Regions from separate parts of the Homo sapiens genome. Here region 1 is linked to region 2. The links are contacts of gene promoters, found by promoter capture Hi-C in blood cells and fetal thymus (Javierre and others, 2016). All regions are on one chromosome and are shown on one strand. Each heading gives the region's core, a stretch centred on a gene start or on the middle of the fragment in contact. The rest is flanking DNA. Distances are from core to core; before and after follow the strand shown.

Region 1 (7,627 bases), core at 4,729-7,228, 680 kb after region 2:
CACACCTATGCTGGAGCAGCTACTCCCATCTGTCTACTTTCCCTCCTTCCCCTAAAAGCTACTTAAGTCTCGGTTTATCCAGTTACATGTGCTAAGTGAAAAGAAGGCATAATTCCCAAGCCACGTTTTTGGAAATAACATGGTGACCCATTTCAACACTTACACACACAGATGTTAAATTAGCCAAAGTATATTTAAATAATCTCATCTCATTCATTCTTGCTAATGCTCATAGATTCATTATCGTATTGGACTTTCTTCCCACAAAATGACTGGCCTTATACCAAGTTTTATAAATATTAAAAAGGTTGTTTTGTACTAAAAAAGAAAATAACTGGAGGAGAGGGAAGCTTCTCAAAAGAACTTTCACATGGTGGGTAATATAAATGTCGCTAAGATAAGATACACAACGCTGGATTCTTTTTCTCTGTGACCCCTGCCCACCCCCCATTCTACCTAAACTCACTGTGTAACTAATCATGAACAAAAGAGAGGCACAGTTTGAATTTCAGCTAGAGATACACACTGTATTCAAAGGGTTTGCTTCCCTAAAGACTGTATTCTTTTTATTTTTATTTATTTATTTTGGTATGAACGGGGTCTCCCTATGTTGCCCTGGCTGGTCTGAAACTCCTGGCTACAAGACTGTATTCTGCTCTAGATACGAAGCCATTTTGTCCTTTACAAGGGAAGCCTTGACTTCCTCTACACAATTTACTAATCCTAATTGTAATAAGCATTTCCATTTGAGAAAAAAATTCTGGTAGGAATTGTATCATCTTTCTAAACATGAGGCAATCTTTACAAACATACTGTTTCTCAGAAAGAAAATGATAAAAAACCTAAATGTCTGTATAGGGAGTTAGTTTTGAAAATTATAGAACTGGCCAGGCACGGTGGCTCACACCTGTAATCCCAGCACTTTGGGAGGCCAAACCAGGTGGATCACCTGAGGTAAGGAGTTCAAGACAAGCCTGGCCAACATGACGAAATCCCATCTCTACTAAAAATACAAACATCAGCCAGGCGTGGTGGTGGGTGCCTATAGTCCCAGCTACTTGGGAGGCTGAGACATGAGAATCACTTGAACCCTGGAGGTGGAGGTTGCAATGAACCGAGATCGCGCCACTGCACTCCCGAGACTGTCTCAAAATAAAATAAAATAAAATAAATTATAGAATATTCAAAGTAGAACACTATACTAGCCATTAACAAGAATCAGATAAATGTATAGGCAATAAGATGAAATATGTTAGTATATGTATTTTTGTATTTTCAAGCAAAAAATACAAACTTCAGGAAAATAGGCTTAGATTACTCCATTTATATAAATAAAAAACACTTATATGTGAACAGAAAAGTATCTCATACAGATACACATTCATATACATAGATTACTAAATGCTTAGGGAAAGGTCTAGGACAGAGCTGTCAAATAGAAATAAAATGGGCGGGGCATAGTGGCTCACACCTGTAGTCCCAGCACTTTGGGAGGCTGAGAAGGGAGGATCAGTTGATCCCCGGAGTTTGAGACCAGCCTGGGCAACATAGTGAGACCCCATCTCTTAAAAAAAAAACACACAGAAATAAAATGGGAACCACATACCTAGTTTAAAAACATATTTTAGCCCTATTAAATATAAAAAGAAACAACTGAAATTGTTTTTAATACATTTAACCCAATATGTCAGAAATGTTACTGTTTCAACAATGGAACTGAAATAAAAATTGACTGCTTATTTTTTCTTACTAATTCTTCAAAATTTAGTGTGTATTTATACCTATAGCACATCTCAATTCAGACTGGTGGCATTTCAAGTGTTCAACAGCCACATATAGCTAGTGACTACTCTACTGAACAGTGGAGACCTTACAAAAACCCCACCAAATTATTAACTTTCATTTTGTCTTCTATATCTCTGTGTTGCTTGAATTTTTAGAAGAACACGCATATATTGCTTCTATGTTTCTAAAAAAAAAACCTAAATGTGTCCATATATGAAAATTAATTCAAGGTACAAAAAAAACCTAAACATAAAAGCCAGGACCATTAAAAAAAGGCAAAATCTTCTCAACCTTATAGGCAGATTTCTTAGGACACAAAAAGCACTAACTGTAAAAGACGAACTGAATATCAAAATTAAAAACTCTGCTCATCTAAACACACCACCAAAAAAATGAATAAGCAAGACAAACACTAAGAAAAATTCTTAGCATTTACATCTGACAAACTATCTATATTCAGAATATAAGAAGAACTCCTATAAACCAATAACAGAATAAAACAACCCAATAAAAATGGGTAAGATTGGAAGAGTCACTTTACACATGAAAAGATGTCATTATTATTAGTTTTCAGAGCAATGCAAACTAAAATCAGAGGAGATACCATTTCACACTTACCCAAATAAAAAAGACTGACAAGGCTGGGCGCGGTGGCTCATGCCTGTAATCCCAGCACTTTGGGAGGCCGAGGCGGGTGGATCACCTCAGGTCAGGAGTTCAAGACCACTCTGACTAATATGATGAAACCCCATCTCCACAAAAAATACAAAAATTAGCCAGGTGTGGTGGCATCCACCTGTAGTCCCAGCTACTCCAAGGCTGAGACAGGAGAATCGTTTAAACCCCAGAGGTGGAGGTTGCAGTGAGCTGAGATCATGCCACTGTGCTCCAGCCTGGGCGACAGAGCGAGACTCCATCTCAAAAAAAAAAAAAAAGACTGACAACATCACATGTGAACAAGGATACGTATGGACCAAGTAGAACCCTCATACATCACTGGCAAAATATAAAATGGTACAACCATCTTGAGGAACTGTTTGGCAGTTTCTTATAACATTAAGACTGAGCGTTGTGGCTCATGCCTATAATCCTTGCAGTTTGGGAGGCTGCAGCAGGAGGACTGCTTGAGCCTAGGAGTTTGAGACCAGCCTGCAACATGGGGAGACCCCATCTCTACAAAAAAATTAAAAATTAGCCAGACATAGTGGTGTGCACCTGTAGTCCCAGCTACTCGAGAGGCTGAGGTGGGAAGATCTCTTGAGCCACAGAGTTCAAGGCTGCAGTGAGCTGTGATTATGCCATTGCATTCCAGCCTGAGTGACAGAGCAAGACCCTGTCTCAGAAAAACCAAATCAAAACCAAAACAAAAACATTAAGCACACATCTACTCCATGACCTAGCAATTCCATTCCTAGGTATTTAGGTACCCAAGATAAATAAAAACATATGTCTTCAAAAAGATTTGGAAATAACCCATACGTTTATCAGCAGGATAGATGGATAAACTGTGGTATATATGAACAATTTATAAAAAGCAATGAACCACTGATATACACAGCAACATGATAAGTCTCAAATACATGTTCTTTCACTGTAGGTAAAAGAATCCAGGCACAAAAATTTAAAAAATGTATGCTTTGATTTCCATGACGTTCTGGAAAAGCAAAACTAATCTATCATGATAAAAATCAGTAGTTGCCTGGGGCAAAGAGCATAGGGCAAAAGCAACTGGAAAGGGGCATGAGGGAACTTTCTGGAGTGACGGAATCATACTATACCTTATCTTGGATAGTGGCTATGAAGTAGTAGGCAGGACAGGATTCCAGAGGCAGGGCTTGGATACCAAACCAAATTGATGACTAGCTAAAACAGGTATGGGGCAGAAGCGGCTTTCTGTAAGACACACCCACCAGTGTGCTATGTCAGTTTACCATTGGTATGACAACACCTGAGAGTTACCGCCCCTTCCCAGAGCAATGACCTGACGATCCAGAAGTTATTACCCTTTTCCTAGAAATTTCTGCATAAACTGCCCCTTAATCTGCATGTAATTAAAAGTAGATATAAATATGACTGCAGAACTGCCCTGAGCTGCTACTCTCAGCACAATGCCTATGCGGTAACCCTGCTCTGCAGGAGCAGTCAAGGAGCTGTTAACACTGCCGCTTCAATAAAGCTGTTTTCTTCTACCACCAGCTAGCTCTTGAATTACTTCCTGAGCAAAGCCAAGACCCTCCAGGGCTAAGCCCCAACTGGGGGCTTGGCTGTGCCCTGTATCAGTTATATGGATGTATTCAATTGTGAAAACTCATTAAATTGAACACTTAAGGCCCCTGTGATAATGAACCTACCTCCTGCCATAAAAGTCAAATGCTATGGGAACCAAAAAGCAGTACTTAATGAATGCTGTTTGATACATGATGAATAGATGAATACATGAAGACTGAGAAAATATTGAAGTGTGGAGTATAATTATCATTAAAATGCTCTCCATCATTCTTCTACCACTATATTGGTGTGAGTCCACACAAATCTCTTCAATTTATTGACCAATCACAATTAAGATGATATCCTTGTCTCTCTGAAATCCTGCTCTATTTATAACTCAACTCTTTCTTGAATATTTCCAATGAATGTCCATATAACAAGCTTTCCAGCTGAAGTAACAAAAGAAATAAAGAAAAGAAAAAGGTGGCAAAGAAGAAACTAAATGTGAGAGAAGATATGAAAAAGACTCCTTGTGTTCAAGTACAATCTAGTCAATTTAGTTCCAAAGGAAGAAAAACATGAAGTCACTAAATATGCTCCTAGTTGAAGGTCAGGGAAACCACTCAGAAAGGCCAACAGTTTGCTTCTCCACTTCTCGAGGTTCACTCAGTTCTATTGTGTTCTCATAGGCAGTAAAAACCAAAAGAAAATCATCCAAAGCAACAAACATGCAGTTGCCCCAAACTGCTTTAGCAATAAATAGAATTTCATGCTGAGTGGCAGACTGTTTAGCTCACATTCCTGTAACGTCCCCTACATCTATTTCACGCAGCAACTTCGCTAGCAGTCACCAGCCACAGCCTGAACACTGTAGTAACAGGGCACATTATACATCAAAATCCCTTAGATACATTTTAACCCAGCATCTATGGTAGAAAACAACCAAGAGTTTCTTGTTATCCACAAGGCAAGCCAAAGTTAAGTGCAGGAAAGGCTGAGGGAATACCATGTGCTTCCTTTCTGACTGGAAAACAAGGCTTCCAGGCAACACAGCAGGGTTTCTGTGCACTCTGACAGGGATGTGCGTTGTAAGCTGCATTGCTATGGAAACAACACTTCTACAACTAGAGGACAAGTCAACCTGAAATAAAGGAAATAGCAGGAATTGCAAAATAGGTCTTGTGGAATGAGTAAGGAGCATCTCACGTCTCTGCTTGAACTATGGCATGATTAAGCTGAAATAAAATGTCATTCCAATCATATAACAGACATTTACAGTCTGTTTTTGGGGTCAGCTACTTGCTGAACACAAGCTATGAAACCAAAACCACCCTGCTTTTAAGATGAAAACTGACAAAATATGCAAAACTAAAAGGATAAGAACTAAATTTCCACAGATCAAAGTTTTAAAAAATGGTGATCATTAATAAAAGCTATTCATTTACTCCTTAATCAAATACTATAAATTATTTGCCACGTACCAGGCTGGACACATACAAAAAAGACAAAATCTACGCCTTCAAGCTCACAGCGTAGTGATGGAGACTAAGGTGTAAAACTGACGATGAGGGAGTATGGGATAGTTAGTGCTACAATAAAGGCTATTAAACAAATGCAGTTGCAAAGGGGTAGTAGTTAGAGTTTAGTGCAAGACACAGACACTGACTGGCCGACAAAAAAGGAATTTATTTAAAAGATATTGGGGTAAAAACAAAGATACTGGTCTTTCCAAGTGTCCACAGAATATACAAGACAGACCACATCCTGGCCCATAAAATTAATATCAACAAATTTAAAAGAGTTGAAATCACAAAGAATGTGTTCACCAGCAACATGATCAAACTAGAAAGCAACAACAGAAAGACAACAGAAAACTCTCTGAAAACTTGGAAATGGAACAATACACTTCTAAATAATGCATGGGTCAAAAAGAAAGTCTCAAGGGAATTAAAAAAATAATGAACGGAATAAAATCATACATGTATCAAAAATTGTTGAATATAGCTAAAGCAGTGTGAGGGAAATGTGTAGTAAGAAATACATACAGTGTAAAGAGGAAAAGTCTCAAATCAATAATCTAAGCTCCAACTTCAAGAATCTAGTAAAAAAAAAGAGCAATATATAGGCAAACCAAGCAGAAGCAAGGAAATAATTATAGAAGTAAATGAAATTGAAAACATAAAGGGAAAGATCAATGAAACAGAGCTGGTTCTTTGAACAGATCAATAAAATCGACAAACGTCTAGCAAGACTGACCAAAAAAAAAAGAGAGAGAGAGAGAAGGCACAAATTACCAATATCGGAGGTAATGAAATGGGATATCACTACAAGTATCAAAAGGATAAGAGAATATTATGCAGAATTCTACCCAAATAAATTTGGCAACATAGACTAATTCCTCAAAAAAGACAAACCACAAGACACTCAATATGAAAGAGCCCTGTAACTATTAAGGAAACAATTTGTCATTTAAAAACTCCCAAAAAGGAAATCTCTAGATTAGTGATTACCAGAGGTTAAGGAGGGGGTGAGGGCAGGAGGAAAGTGTATGTAGCTATAGAGAACATGAGGAATCTTAGCAGATATGAAAATGTTCTGTATCTTGACTATATCTGTCAATGTAAATATCCCAGTTGTAATATTATAAGATGGTACCATAGGGGGAAACTGGGTCAAAGGAACAAGGAATCTCTGCACTAGTTTATATGACTACACATGAGTATACAACCTCTTAAAATTAAAGGTTTATTTATTTATTTTTTTAAAGGTAAAGGGATTGCTGGGCGTAGTGGCTCATGCCTGTAATCTAAGCACTTTGGGAGGCCGAGATGGGCATATCACTTGAGCCCAGGAGTTTGAGACCAGCCTGGGCAACATGGTGGAACCCTGTCTCTACTAAAAATACAAAAATTAGACAGGCGTGCAGGTACTCATTTGTAGTCCCAGCTACTTAGGAAGCTGAGGCAGGAAAATCGCTTGAACTCAGGAGGTGGAGGTTGCACTGAGCTGAGATTGTGCCACTGCACTCCAGCCTGGGCAACACAGCAAAACTCCATCTGAAAAAAAAAAAAGAAAGAAAAGCTACATAGGGTATCTGCACTTAAAGCCGATGAACTTCCATTTTAGGCAAGATGGATACTTAAGATAACCTAAACATTTTCCAGATAAAGACCTAGAAATGCTACATAAAATATACCAAAAATTATTTTAAGTGTATAGCTAAACTCATAAGAAAGAATGGGCAACCTCCGGGTATTTGGATCAAAGAAGGAACTGAAAACCACAGTAGAGCACATGAGCTGAAATAGTGGTTACAGCCGGCAGGGTGGGGTGGGGGAAGACAGTTTCAATAACTTCCAGTCGGGGTTTTATTTGCCACGTGATAATAAAAATGGTCTTGAGCTTACAGGCAGTAGAGAACTAGAACTAAGGCTAAAAGTGGAAAGTCAATGCATCCTCAATGAAAGGAAAGAGTTAGGAAAAAAAAAAAATCACATAACAGCCCAAGGAACAGAGAAGAAAGTGTATCTAAGCTTTTGGGCTGTAGCGGGTAGGAAGAAAGGTCTCTTTTAAGAACCGGAACGAACCCTGGGCCTGCAACCCACATAGATTTGGGCTTCAAAATTATACTTTC
Region 2 (7,456 bases), core at 2,916-5,415:
CCAGTAATCCCAGCACTTTGGAAGGCTGAGGTGGGCGGATCACTTGAGGTCAGGAGTTGGAAACCAGCCTGGCCAACATGGTGAAACCCCGTCTCTACTAAAAATACAAAAATTAGCTAGGTGTGGTGGTGCATGCCTGTAATCCCAGCTACTCGGAGGGCTAAGCCAGGAGAATTGCTTGAACCCAGGGGGTGGAGGTTGCACCATCTCAAAAAAATGTAATACATTACATATATATAGTAATATATATAATATTACATATATATAGTAATATATATGTAATATTACATATATAGTAATACATATATATAATATTACATATATATAGTAATACATATATATAATATTACATATATATTATATATATAAGTTAGCCTGGTGTGGTGGCACACACCCGTAGTCTCAGCTACCTGGGAAGTTGAGATAGGAGGATTCCTTGAGTCCAGGAGGTTGAGGCTGCAGTGCCAGCTTCCTACTCTTAACCTCTCTCTCTTCTCTGAACATGAGTGAGGAAGCACAGAGCCCTGATCCTAAAGCTTGGAATGAGGCTAACCTGAGCATGGTAGAATGGAAAGGGAGAAAGAATCTGAGTCTTTGATGACAACATTGAGCCACTGGTTTGAACTGACATGAAGTGTACCCCATCCCCTAACTGCAGGTTTCATGAACCAATAACCTCCCTGATTGTTTAAGGCAGTTTGAATCATGTTTGCTTTATTTGCAACTGAAGCCGACTGCGTTCAGCAATGAATGATGATAATAATTATGACACTAGATCTCTCAATTCACCTACTACATCCTAAGTGCTTTGGAACCCCCAGCTCTCCATGGTTATTTTCATTTAACAGATGAAGATACCATCTGGGCACAGTAGTTCATACCCGTAATCCCAACATTTTGGGAGGTAGAGGTGGGAAGATTGCTTGAGGCCAGGAGTTCCATTCTGGGCAACACAGCGAGACCCATCTCTACTAAAAATACAAAAATTAGCTGGGACCTGTAGTCCCAGCTACTCAGGAGGCTGAGGCGGGAGAATCGCTTGAGCCTGGGAGGTTGAGGCTGCAGTGAGCTATGATGACACCACTGCACTCCAGCCAGGGAAACAGAGAGACCCTGTCTCGAAAAAACAAACAGGTGAAAAGTGAAGATGCTGCGGTTCAGGGAGGTTGCATTCAAATAATCACAAGGCCATGGAACCAGTTTTCAAAGTATTTAAAATAAAGTTAGGGTAGGGTGTCATGACTCAAACCTGTAATCCCAGCACTTTGTGAGGCTGAGGCCAGGGGATCGTATGAGCCTGAGTTCGAGACCAGCCTGGGCAACATGGTGAAACCCTGTCTCTACAAAAAAATACAAAAATTTGCTGGATGTGGTGGTGCTTGCCTGTAGTCCCAGCTACTCTGGAGCCTGAGGAGGGAGAATTGATTGAGGCTGGGAGGTCGAGGCTGCAGTGAGCCATGATTGTGCCACTGACTCCATTCCAGCATGGGCAACAGAATGAGACAGTGTCTCAAAAACACCACCACCACCACCACTAACAAACGACAACAAAAAACAAAGTTAGTTTTTTTTTTTTTAACAGCTCAGTGAAATAGGTAGGTTAAGTATTATCGCCAGTTTATGGATTAATTAGCAGCTTGGAGAAAATAATTGGCCTGGAGCCCAAGTATGGCTTTAAAACATGAGTAAGGCACTGGCAGAAGTGAAACTAAATAAATGAGCAATCGATATAGTTGTGTTTTTGTTGCCTGAGAGTTACAGTGATTGGGCAAGGGAGGTAACAGTTATTAGGGCACTCCTAAAAAGACTAGTGGATCTCAGACTACCCAGCTATTCCCACGTGCTAAGCAGATATCTTCAAGGCCATTTCTTGGGAATTGTGAGGGCAAAAGGTTTTACACTTTCTCTGTTGCACCAGAAACAGAAGCAAATGTGGCAATGTTGTTCAAGGAATCTTGCAAATTGTAGCTTCCTAGCTCTAAGCTCCAGTTATCTTACCAGCAGCCTCATCAGAAAGCCATATCTCAGCACTGAACTAATCAGAAAGGAAAATGGGGAAAATATCCCACCCATAGAACTGACAAACAATTTCAAATAATAAATTATACAGTGGTGGCATGGTATGAAGAAAATTGCAGCGGTCACATTGGCTCATGCCTGTAATCTCAGCGCTTTGGAAGGCCGAGGCAGGTGGATCACCTGAGGTCGGGAGTTTGAGATCGCCCGGCCAACATGGTGAAACCCCATCTCTACTAAAAATACTAAAATTAGCCAAGCATGGTAGCAGGCGCCTGTAATCCCAGCTACTCGGGAGGCTGAGGCAGGAGAATTGCTTGAACCCGGGAGGTGGAGGTTGCACTGAGCCGAGATCACACCACTGTGCTCCAACCTGGGCAACAGAGCAAAACTCCGTCTCAAAAACAAAAACAAAAACAAAAAAAAAGAAAGAAAGAAAATTGCACAAAACAAAGCTTGAAGAAAGGAGGAAAGAGAAGTGTTATATTTCTGGCTGGGAAGACTAAAACAGACCAACCCAGCAATCCTTCCCAAATTTAAATCCAATTTAATGCAGTTCCAATAAAACATCTACTGACATATTTTGGCATTAAATCAAAATGATCCTAAAGTTCATTTGAAATGGGAAATTAGTAGGGATAACCAGGATTTTAAAAAATAAAGAAAAGGGGACTTGCCTGTATGAAATTAAAATATATTAAAAACTGCAAAATATTGGGAAAAAGCACCCTACAATAACTTAAATTGTTTAAGGTCTTATTAAGTATATGATCTACAAGGGAAGAAAGGGAATATACATATATACACACTTAGACTGGGCAATTTGAATTTCTAGGAACTTATGATGTAGAAAAGCTTGTGTTTGTAGATAGATGGCTACCGAGATGTTCACTGCAGTGCTATTTATAATATGTAAAACAAACAGCTAAGAATATGTTCAGGCCAGCTGCAGTGGCTCACACCTGTAATCCCAGCACTTTGGGAGGGTGAGGTAGGAGGATCACCTGAGCCCAGGAGTTTGAGACCAGCCTGGGTGACAAAGCGAGACCCTGGCTCTACCAAAAAATACAAAAAAAATTTAATTGGGTGTGGTGATGTGCACCTTGTAGTCCTAGCTACTTGGGAGGATCTGGTTGGAGGATCACTTGAGCCCATGAGTTCGGAGGCTGCAGTGAGCTATGATTGTGCCACTGCGCTCCAGCCTGGGCAACAGAGGAAGACTCCATCTCTCAAAATAAATAAATAAAAAGAAAAAGGGGATTATGTTCATATGTTACGATGAGAAAACAGGTTACTAATTTTAAAAGTGAAAAATCTTTAAATGGTAATAACAATGCAAATTCACCTCTTCCCTCCAAAAAATAAAAAATAAAAATAAAATAAAATAAGTAAAGGTTATCAGGCATTTCCCTCTTCTCTCTCTCTCACTCTGTCTCTCTCTCACGCCTTCAGCCTGCAAACCTGAAGACTTCCTTTTTCTGAGAAGACATCAGGTAACTTGTTCCCGTGCCCCTGCCCTCCACGACCCCCACTGCTACTGGGCGTCTCGCTTTGGCGGAAGGTAGTGCGAGATCCGAGCAGGCAGCTCCACCATCAGAGCTGAGGAAATGAAACCAACTCGGTCCTGAGTTCCAGGAACTCGGACCGGGCCACCCTCACCCCTGGTTCTTCCCATCACCGTCCAGGAATTCGGCTGCAGCCCCTCGGCCCCGCCGCCTCCTGGGAAGACCCCATGCTCACCTTCGCGCCTCCCGAGGGGTGTGCGTCCAATCTGTCCCGTGCACAGTTCCAAAAAGCTCGCTCTTCCACCTTCTTTCCCACGACCGCCTCCTGCCCAGGCGAGAAGTTTGCAAACGCGAGGCCCGCGGGAGTTCCCCTGCGCCCCCTTTCCTGGTGCCCGCACCCTGCACTCTGCTGACTGTACCGGACGCCACACGTGGCTGGCGGCGACAAGGCGCCCCGATCCCTACCTGAGGGAAACCCCGGCCACTGCAGCTGCACTTGAGCAGGGTCCCTCCACTCAGCCACTTGGATGGCTGTTTCTGTCCAGTGCCCTCCGGAGGCCACTGCCTCAGGTCTGTGATGCCTGCAGAGAATGCTGCGACACTTCCCCCTCCGACGTGGCTCCAGCTGCCAACCACCAGGCTCACGGTGCCCTGGCTCCCTGGAGCCGCTTTCTAGGCAGCTCGGAGCCACGGCCCCTCCCTTCCTTCCTCCTGTCCTTTCCACACTCTTCCTGCCTTCCCCAAAGTCACTGGGTAACTACGCTGTACACGTCAGTACCAAGCCTTCTTTAGGGGCTGGGGATTCAGAATAGAATAAGGTCCCAGCAACTATTATAACCAGGACACAGTATGAGAAGGACTGGAAGTTTAGAGAAAAACTGAAAGTTGGAGAGAAGCTTCTGGTGTTTGCTTCTCTGTGCTGGATAATATTGGCGGGGTGGGGAGGGTACGAGGGAAGAGACACCAAAGTGGGAAAAAAGTCACTTCCTCTTCTAAGGTCATTGCAGAACATCCTGTTACAGTGTGAGTCAGGTTTTCTTAAGATTAACTACATCTTCAGCTAGAAAGTCTAAGTAGTGTTATGCATTTACTCAACAGACTATTTGCCTCTAAAAGAACAGAACTGGGAGCTGGGTGTGGTGGCTCATGCCTGTAATTCCAGCACTTTGGGAGGCGGAGGTGGCCAGATCACCTGAGGTCAGGAGTTCAAGACCATCCTGGCCAACATGGGGAAACCCTGTCTCTACTAAAAATACAAAAATTAGCCAGGCGTGGTGGTGCATGCCTGTAATCCCAGCTACTCGGGAGCCTGAGAGGGGAGAATCGCTTGAAGCCGGCCTTGGAGATTCATTTCTTCGCCTTGCTATTGTTCTTCGTCTCCTGCATCATCAGTTTTCTTCCTGTCTTAGGTGAAGAGATTGAGGTGAGGCAGGAGAATAGGGTCTGCAGGCAGGGAACATAAAGCTGATTCACGCTGACTTCTTAGAACTAAATAAAATGGACACATTTCAGCTATGACAGGAAATATTTTCTTCATTTACATATGGCGTTCACTGAGTAAGTGACTGAGCAACTTCACTTCATCTTCTTCATTTACATAGGGTGTACACCAATTAACCAATGGGAGCCTCTAGAGGGTATTTAAATCCCAGAAAATTCTGTAACGGAGTTCTTGAGCCCCTATGCTCACGCTGGCTCCCACCCTGTGGAGTGTACCTTTGTTTTCAATACATCTCTGCTTTTGTTGCCTCATTCTTTCCTTGCTTTGTGCATTTTGCCCATTTCTTTGTTCAAGATGCCAAGAACCTGGACACCTTCAACAAGTAACACAGGTGCCTGTGATTTATTGAAGGAAGACTCTTAGGAGAGTGGTGGGTATGATAGGGCAGAGGAAGAAAAAGTGAAACAAGTATGTAGTCAGTGGAGGCTCCATGGGGAGGTCTGGAATGTGAAGGTCTGGAACAAGAGGCAGCCTCCTTTCTGCCCAGGGCAATTCTTCTGGACGAGGGGGAAGCTGTGTGAGTGTTTAGCTGTCAACACTCATAGCAGCTGCAGGATGGGTATACTGATCTGCTATAAACAAAATCATACAATGTATAACCTTTTGGAAGTTTTTTTCTTTTCTTTTCTTTTTTTTTTTTTTTACTGTCCCACCATCAATGTACAAGACATTCAGTTTCTCTGCATCCTCAGCAGCATTTTATTTTGTCCCTGCCTGAATTTTTAGCTATTCTAACAGGTGAATAGTGATATATCATCATGGTTTTTTGTTTTGTTTTGTTTTGAGATAGAGTCTTACTCTGTTGCCCAGGCTGGAGTGCAGTGGCGCCATCTCAGCTCACTGCAACCTCCACCTCCTGGGTTCAAGCGATTCTCCAGCCTCAGCCTCCCAAGTAGCTGGGACTACAGGCGTGCACCACCACACCTGTCTATTTTTTGTATTTTTAGTAGAGACAGCGTTTCGCCATATTGGCCAGACTGGTCTCGAACTCCTGACCTCAGGTGATCCACCCACCTTGGCCTCCCAAAGTGCTGGGATTATAGGCATGAGCCACTGCGCCTGGTCTCATCATGGTTTTAATTGGCATTTCTTTAGTGCCTGGTGATGATGGACATGTTTTCATGTGCTTGTTTGCCATCTGTATAGCCTCATTGGTGAAATGTCTGTCCATGTCTTTTGCCCATTTTTAGTTGAATTCTTTTTAAAAAACTTGAGTTTTGAGAGTTTAAATATTCTAGATATTAATCCTTTGCCAGATAGGTGGTGTTCAAATGGTGGTGGAGTAACTGAACAAAAAAATGAACTTCACCTAAACCTCATATTCTATGCAAAAATTGCCTGAATGGATCAGAGATTTAAATGTAAAATGTAAAACAAGGAACCTTTTAGAAGAAAGCAGAGAGAACTGTGCAGAATGAAAGGACATTTCCTGTTGAGAAAATGTAAATGTTTGAAAAAAGTTTAGGGCCGGTCGCAGTGGCTCACGCCTGTAATCCCAGCACTTTGGGAGGCCGAGGTGGGCGGATCACGAGGTCAGGAGATTAAGACCATCCTGGCTAACACGGTGAAACCCCATCTCTACTAAAAATACAAAAAAAAATTAGCCGGATGTGGTGGCGGGTGCCTGTAGTCCCAGCTACTCGGGAGGCTGAGGCAGGAGAACGATGTGAACCCAGGAGGCGGAGCTTGCAGTGAGCCGAGATCGCGCCATTGCACACCAGCCTGGGTGGCAGAGTGAGACTCCGTCTCAAAAAAAAAAAAAAAAAAAAAGAAAAGAAAAAAGTTTAAATGAGCCCTTTAAAATGTTTTTATTTTTAGTAGAGACAGAGGTCTCCCTGTGTTGCTGAGGCTGATCTTGAACTTCTGAACTCAAGCAATCCTCATGCCTTGGCCCCCCAAAGTGTTGGGATTACGAGCTTGAGCCACCTTGCCTGGCCAAATGAGTCTATTTAATAAGAATGGCTATTCATACTAAAAATTGTACAATATTAAAAATAATTCCCAGTTTCTTTGGCTTTATCTTGGAGTTGCCATTTGAAAAAAAAAATCACAAACATTTGAAAAAAAAAAAAACTTGTAGAACATGTAGAAGAAAATCTTCAGAACCTAAGGCTAGGCGAAGAATTCTTAGGCATAACATCAAAGCCATTATTATTCTTTCTTCTTTTCTTTTTCTTTCTTTTTTTTTTTTTTGAGACGGAGTCTCCCTCTGTTGCCAGGCTGTAGTGCAGTGCTGTGATCTCAGCTTACTGCAACCTCCACCTCCAGGGCTCAAACAATTCTCCTGCCTCAGCCTTCCAACAAGCTGGGACTACAGGCATGTGCCACCACGCTTGGCTAGTTTTTTTTTGTATTTTTAGTAGAGATGGAGTTTTAGCATGTTGGCCAGGCTGGTCTCGAACTCCTGACCTCAAGTGATCTACCTGCCTTGGCC

What was found. Contacts are between HindIII fragments. The CHiCAGO score rates a contact against its expected background, and 5 or more counts as called.
Region 1: a fragment that was not itself captured here is called in contact with the fragment with the promoter of MLKL in region 2 in 4 of 17 cell types (M1 macrophages, fetal thymus, erythroblasts and 1 more); the score reaches 6.2 in M1 macrophages.

What each region holds. Positions count from the first base shown.
Region 1 is chr16:75,373,086-75,380,712 of GRCh38, forward strand. All of the region lies in intron 5 of CFDP1 (craniofacial development protein 1), which reads right to left. Among named protein-coding and RNA genes, the nearest start is that of CFDP1, 57 kb to the right of the region's middle. RefSeq lists enhancers at 3,522-4,019, 7,432-7,541. The HindIII fragment of the contact is 3,092 bases long and covers 4,433-7,524 here.
Region 2 is chr16:74,696,697-74,704,152 of GRCh38, forward strand. MLKL (mixed lineage kinase domain like pseudokinase) reads right to left here and starts at 4,166. Exons shown (of 11, transcript NM_152649.4): 1 at 3,757-4,166. RefSeq lists an enhancer at 3,620-4,069. The HindIII fragment of the contact is 1,546 bases long and covers 2,870-4,415 here.